Regions from separate parts of the Homo sapiens genome. Here region 1 is linked to region 2. Evidence: promoter capture Hi-C in 16 types of primary human blood cells and fetal thymus (Javierre and others, 2016). All regions are on one chromosome and are shown on one strand. Each heading gives the region's core, a stretch centred on a gene start or on the middle of the fragment in contact. The rest is flanking DNA. Distances are from core to core; before and after follow the strand shown. Region 1 holds the start of KMT2A (lysine methyltransferase 2A). Region 2 holds the start of RPS25 (ribosomal protein S25).

Region 1 (2,866 bases), core at 359-2,858, 580 kb after region 2:
AACCTGGCTTCCCCCACCCCTTCCAAGCCCCAGGATTGGCCTAGGAAAAGGTGGATCAATAATGAAATGACGAGAAGAGAAGGGCGGGAGGGAGCTCGGGTTGGAGACTGCGTGCTCTCAGGCGCAGTGGGTGGGGTAGGAGAGCAGCTGCTTCCCCTGGGAGGATGCTGCCTCAGTCCCCCAACAAACACCTCCCCTCACAGGGGCCCCCTTCCCCAGAGCTGGAGGGAAAGCCTGCCTCCTCTCCAAGGGGAGTGGTGGAAAGCTGCTCTTCTCTAAGCCTAGGGGACAGTGGACTATTTTCCCCTCCAAGATGCCACTAATCCTTCATTCTAAAGGAGGGAAAGGGTGGAGTGAAGGTAGAGTAATTCCCGGCTACCAATAGGCTAGAAACTGTAGCCCTGTAAGACGGGGCGGGGGGGGGAAGAGACTGCTGTATGAGGAATCACCGTTATCTTCAGAGGGAAAGGAGGTGAGACCAGGCAAGGTGCAGAGGAGAGATTTTCCCCGGTGGGGTAGGGCGGGATGGGGGAGGATCGGTCTGCTTGGGGTGGGGGTAGAGGGTGGAGGTGAAGGAAGGGGGAGTGGCTGGCAGTATAGGGACCTGGCCCGGGGATGGCGCGAGGGTTCATCGGGTTTTCGAAAGCAAGGTGCTGGAAGGGACACGATCCCCAAGGGCCAGGAGAACGTGGCCCTGGATGAGGCCATCACCCGAGAGACGCCCGAGAGGAAAACTGCCCTAGGAGTAACACATCTGCCCAGAGAGGGAGGCGGGGATGTGGCGGGATCAGGTCTCTAGGAGGGAGGGAGGGAGGAATCTTGCTCGGATGAGGTAATCTGTGAAAGGGAGGAGGGGTTCAGTCCCGGGATGGGAAACCCCGGCGAGGGGGTCTGTGCCAAGGGATTTGGGGAAGGGTCAGGGGGAGGAGAGCGGGGGGCAAACGCCCTCAGCCAGATGGGCCCAAACCCCGGGGTGGGGGCGCCTGGGGGTCTGCAGCCCTGCATGGGGGTCCCAAGATGGGAGAGCCATTCGCCCCGGGTCAGGGACCCCGAGATGGTCCCAGAATTGGGATGCTCCTCAATCCCGGATGGGGGAGGGGAGGGGGCTCCGCAGAGGGTCGAGACCCCGGACCTGGGGGTTCCTCGCCCCCTTACCTCTCCGCTGCCGCCTCCCCCGCCGCTCTCCCCAAACACGGCCCGGAACCGGCGCAGGTTGGTGCCGATGGCGGCCGAGACCTGCAGCGCCGCGTCGAAGCCCGGGCCCACCCGGAGCAGGGCCGGCCCTGAAGAGGCTGAGGACGATGACGAAGACGAAGACGAGGCGGACGACGAGGAGGCTGCTGAGGCGGCGGCCGCTCCCCCTGGAACCCCAGCCCCGCTGCTTCCCGCCGCCGCCGCCGCGGCCGCCACAGCCGGGGGGGAGGGGGGCGCCCCGGGGCCGCCACCGCCGACCGGGGGCCCGGGGGGAAGCAGCAGGGCCGGGACGCGTTGCCGCGGGGCGCCCCCTAGGCCCCGGCGCCCCCCGCCGCCGCCGCCCCCGGTGGTCCCGGGTCGGGCGGGGAAGCGCCACCGACAGCTGTGCGCCATGTTCGCCCCGTGAAGTGAAGCAGCGAGAGGGAGAGGCGACAACACAGGGGGGCGGGGAGGCGGAGGGGGGGGCACGGGGCCCCGGAACCTGCCTAACCAGCTCTGCGCCGCCCGGCCGCCTGCACCCTGCCGGCCGCTATGCAGAGCGCCGGGCCGCGCCCGCCAGCCCCGCAATCTGTATAGCGGCCTCGGGCCTCCGCCTCTGACGCCTGGGCGCTGCAACTCCATCCCGAGGCCCGGGCCGCCGCCTCCTGCCCGCCCGCCGGCCCCGCAACCTGGATAACTGCATGCCCCGCCCTCCGGGAGAGGCATTGCTCGGGAAAAGGAGGGGGGAAGGAAGCCCGGGAGCCCGGAGCAGAGCGCGGGTTCCGGAGAGAGGGGGAGGGGGCGAGGACTACGCGGAGGATGGAGGCGTAGGGAGCCGGGCCGCCTGCAGCCTTGAGCGCCGAGAGGCCGATTACACACGTTCCCGGGACGCGCTGGGAATCGAACAGCCCGGGAGAGCAGCTTCCAGTATAACGCGGCGGCTGGGTCGGGGAGCAGTGAGCCTTCTCCTCCGCCCCAGGGCACGGATACAAGATGGGTTAGCCCGAATTGAACGCTTCTAGAATAAAAGAGCCCTTATTGTACTACATGCAAAACAGAAGCGCTGCCCAGTTTACTATATGCAAAACAGAAAGGCCCTCAATGAACGCACTTTAAAAAATAAAAAAGGAGCCCCTCCCATTTTCATGCTGGAGCTCTTTCCAAAAAGCACACACCGAGTGGCAGGTCTCCTGCCACCTCCTCGCTCTACTGTGCACTCGTCTGGCTTTCGTGCCCTTCTGCAGGGAGTTGGGTTGTGTTTCTCCAGCCCGGGCACTGAGGCCACGGCGTGCTCCGCTAACGACGCGGTGTTACAACGAAGCTGAAGCTGGGTGGCTAACGGGGCCTGGAGGGAAGAGGCGGGCAAAAGCGCCCCCGCCCCTTCTTCCTCCGGTCTCTGCCTGCCGCTGCATGCAAAGCAGACCCTAATGTATGCACGCAGAGGGAGGGGGGCTCGCGAGCACGTTTCTGATTAAGAGAGGGGGAGGAGGAGAGCGTTGGGCATTATGATACACTGGGTGGAAGGGGCCCGCCGGCGGCGAGCTCTGTGCGCGGGGTTAGTAAGCTGAGGGGGGAGGGGGAAAGAAGGAGGCGAGTTAGGGAGGGGAATGAATATCCACCGGGTTTACTTTATTGCGGGAAAGAGGGGAGGGCGCCTCGAGCATAGCGTTAGACGCCTGCAAGGCTGGGAAAG
Region 2 (3,210 bases), core at 80-2,579:
GTCAGGAGTTTGAGACCAGCCTGGCCAACATGGCAAAACCCCTCTCTACTAAAAATACAAAAATTAGCTGGTCGTGGTGGCACGCGCCTGTAATCCCAGCTACTCGGGAGGCTGAGGCAGGAGAATCGCTTGAACCTGGGAGGCAGAGGCTGCAGTGAGCCGAGATCCCGCCACTGCGCTCCAGCCTGGGTAACTCCGCGGCCCCTCCCCACCCAGCAAAAAAAGATGACACCACTGCCGTTATTACCTAAAATCTAGATCTGGATCGGTTGCGTTTTTCATAACACCAGAACGACGATTTAAGAAAAGGTAGACAAATTACAAGCGCTGCCGTTCAGGAGACGGGGGACTTACGAGTGGAACATGGAGGCCAGCATAAGCTTCTCATTAGAAGTGAGGCGGGGCCGGCCAAATCGAATGGACACCGGGTAATTAGCAGGGTTACCCAGATACTCCAGCACCTCTTTCCCGTCGGCCGTGTACCTGCCATTCACGTCCATGCCATTGATGGCCAGCACTGCATGACCCACTGCAGAGGTGAAGCTAACGGTCAGCGAAGGTGCAGCCCGGGGATTCCGCCGAGGGGACAAGGGACCCGACACAACCCCTTTTCCCCCAACCCCGCACCTACAACCAGCCCACTTCTACAGCACTGGGGCCCTCCCACCCCCGCACCCGCCACGGGCCCGAGCCTAGCCCACCTCGGATGCCGTCCCGCTGGCCGAAAGCAACCAACACACGCTCATCGTGTAGCTTGAGCAGCAGATCCAGCGGATAACTGAAAGTTTTCTCAGCCTCAGCCCGTGGCGCGTAGCTGTCCAACTGGTAAATCAAGCCGCCAGCTTTGTTCACCACATACACACTAAAAATCGCCATCGCTGCCTTGCCGCTCGGAAACTGGTATTCAGCCTCTACCCGACGGCCCCTCCCCGGAACCGCATCACAGCACTTGCCGCCGGCCCCACCCCAGCCTCCTCCTCCTCCTCCTCCTCCTCCCGCGCCCCCCGTGCAGCCACCTGCTGCACTTGCGCACTGGGAGCGACACGCTCGGGCATAAGTAGTGCCGGAAAGTTAGCTGCCGAGACCTGGTGGATTGCTTTTCGTTTATCAGTGCAGGAAAACAGCGCTATAGTATGCGTCACAACTAGCGCAGACTCCGGCAGTATTTAGGCGGTGCGGCTTGGGAACTAGAATCCACTTCCTGTCTTCCGCCTCAGGCTAGAGGGCGAGCGCTTCGCCGTGGGACTTCTTCTGCCTGGCTCCGCCTTTTGCCCCGGAAGTACTCACAGCGGACGGTGGTTTTTGGGCCCGTTTCTGAGCAGCGCTTCCTTTTTGTCCGACATCTTGACGAGGCTGCGGTGTCTGCTGCTATTCTCCGAGCTTCGCAATGGTAAGCTTCAGGGGTGTGAAGTCGCCGGCGTTCTTGGGTTTGAGGACTCAGTGGGGAGAGCCTTCGGCGGGAGCGCTCCTTGGCCTGCCGGCCTCGGTTGCAGGGCGGGCGCGGTTATTGCTTGGCCCATGTGCTCTGGTGGTGGAGTTTGCGGGGGCTGAGGGCGCAGTATTAGGGGACTTTGGCGCTATTTGAGGACCTGGTTGCATTCCCGCTGCCCTCCTACAGCCGCCTAAGGACGACAAGAAGAAGAAGGACGCTGGAAAGTCGGCCAAGAAAGACAAAGACCCAGTGAACAAATCCGGGGGCAAGGCCAAAAAGAAGGTAGAAATAAGACCTCTCTGAAAGAGACTAGGGGTAACTCTCTCGTAATCCTCTAGTAATAGGTAACTTGTATAGTAAGTGGTTTTTCAGGTGTAGATTTCTAGAGTCAAAATGTGAGAGTTTATCTTCCCGTCACCACTCGTTCTTTTTCCCATTAGGATCATGAAAATGGGTCTGTTGTGCGAAGTGTCTGCCGCTGTGCCTGCTGTGTTATTTTTAACTGATCTAGTGGGGCTCGGCCCCTGTTTGAAGGCCAAAAACGTGTCGGTGTTTTTTTTTTGTTTTTGTTTTAGTAATGTGTAATTTATCCTTGATAACGGTGGAACAGATTTCTCTGACGCAGATTACTCGAGAGGGAAAGGGTGCTTCTGCCAGAAATACTAACTTGTTTCTGTTTTGTTTTGGTGAGCAGAAGTGGTCCAAAGGCAAAGTTCGGGACAAGCTCAATAACTTAGTCTTGTTTGACAAAGCTACCTATGATAAACTCTGTAAGGAAGTTCCCAACTATAAACTTATAACCCCAGCTGTGGTCTCTGAGAGACTGAAGATTCGAGGCTCCCTGGCCAGGGCAGCCCTTCAGGAGCTCCTTAGTAAAGGTGAGGGGTGTATCCTACATGTGTGTTTTTGTAGGTTAAATTGTCTTGACCATGTTAAGCATCTTCAGTGGTTTTGCTGGAAAAGCAGAATTAAAAAAAAAAAGCGTGGCTTGACCATTGGCTGTTAGTAATGTAATTCTGACGTCTTACTCCTGATCCTGAGATGAATTCTCAGGGTTCTTAGCCACTTTTGTGCCGTGGACCCTGTGGCAGTTTAGTGAAGCCCAAGGATCTTTTATGTTTCGAGTAAATGGATGCATAGAATTACAGGGACAACCGTTTTTGAAATAATTAGATTACTATTTTGAAACAACTTTGAAAATGTTTAAAACCTTTATGGTAAATATTTTGTTGATGTATTAAATTTTAAAACCAGAAATTTAGTACGGTCTACTCAGTAGTATGGTCTGATTACCATAATTCCACAATAATAAGGCTCAGCTAACTATAGTGACTGAACGTCTATAATTCTAGCACTTTGGGAGGCCAAGGCGGGTGAATCAACGGAGGTCAGGAGTTAAAGACCAGCCTGGCCAATATGGTGAAAACCTGCTCTACTGAAAGTTAGCTGGACGTGGGGGCACACGTCTGTAATCCCAGCTACTCAGGATGCTGAGGCATGAGGATCCCTTGAACCCAGGAGATGGAGGTGGCAGTGAGCCGAGATGACACCACTGCACTCCAGCCTTAGTGACAGCAAAAGACTGTCTCAGAAAGGGGGGGGGGGTGGAAGATAATGGAGCCCTAATTTAAAGGAAAAGTAAGGATAGATGATCGTTAAAAACTAGGATTCTCGGTTACCGAACGTCAGATTAAGCAATTCTGGAGCCAGGTGCAGTGGTACCCTTGTATTTCTAGCTACTTGGGAGGCCAAAGCAGGAGGATCATTTGAGCCAAGGA

What was found. Contacts are between HindIII fragments. The CHiCAGO score rates a contact against its expected background, and 5 or more counts as called.
Region 1: the fragment with the promoter of KMT2A here is called in contact with the fragment with the promoter of RPS25 in region 2 in 8 of 17 cell types (non-activated CD4 T cells, total CD4 T cells, naive CD8 T cells and 5 more); the score reaches 8.2 in non-activated CD4 T cells.

What each region holds. Positions count from the first base shown.
Region 1 is chr11:118,435,234-118,438,099 of GRCh38, reverse strand. It overlaps KMT2A (lysine methyltransferase 2A), which reads right to left and starts at 1,608. Exons shown (of 36, transcript NM_001197104.2): 1 at 1,156-1,608. The coding sequence starts at 1,587. RefSeq lists enhancers at 1-639, 640-1,638, 2,300-2,439, 1,639-2,636 and a silencer at 1,510-1,989. The HindIII fragment of the contact is 8,732 bases long and covers 1-2,866 here.
Region 2 is chr11:119,016,462-119,019,671 of GRCh38, reverse strand. RPS25 (ribosomal protein S25) reads left to right here and starts at 1,329. Exons shown (of 5, transcript NM_001028.3): 1 at 1,329-1,390; 2 at 1,619-1,714; 3 at 2,127-2,310. The coding sequence starts at 1,388. It overlaps TRAPPC4 (trafficking protein particle complex subunit 4), which reads right to left and starts at 906. Exons shown (of 5, transcript NM_016146.6): 1 at 702-906; 2 at 355-529. The coding sequence starts at 876. RefSeq lists enhancers at 335-1,033, 1,288-1,517, 1,538-1,607 and a silencer at 928-1,047. The HindIII fragment of the contact is 1,015 bases long and covers 383-1,397 here.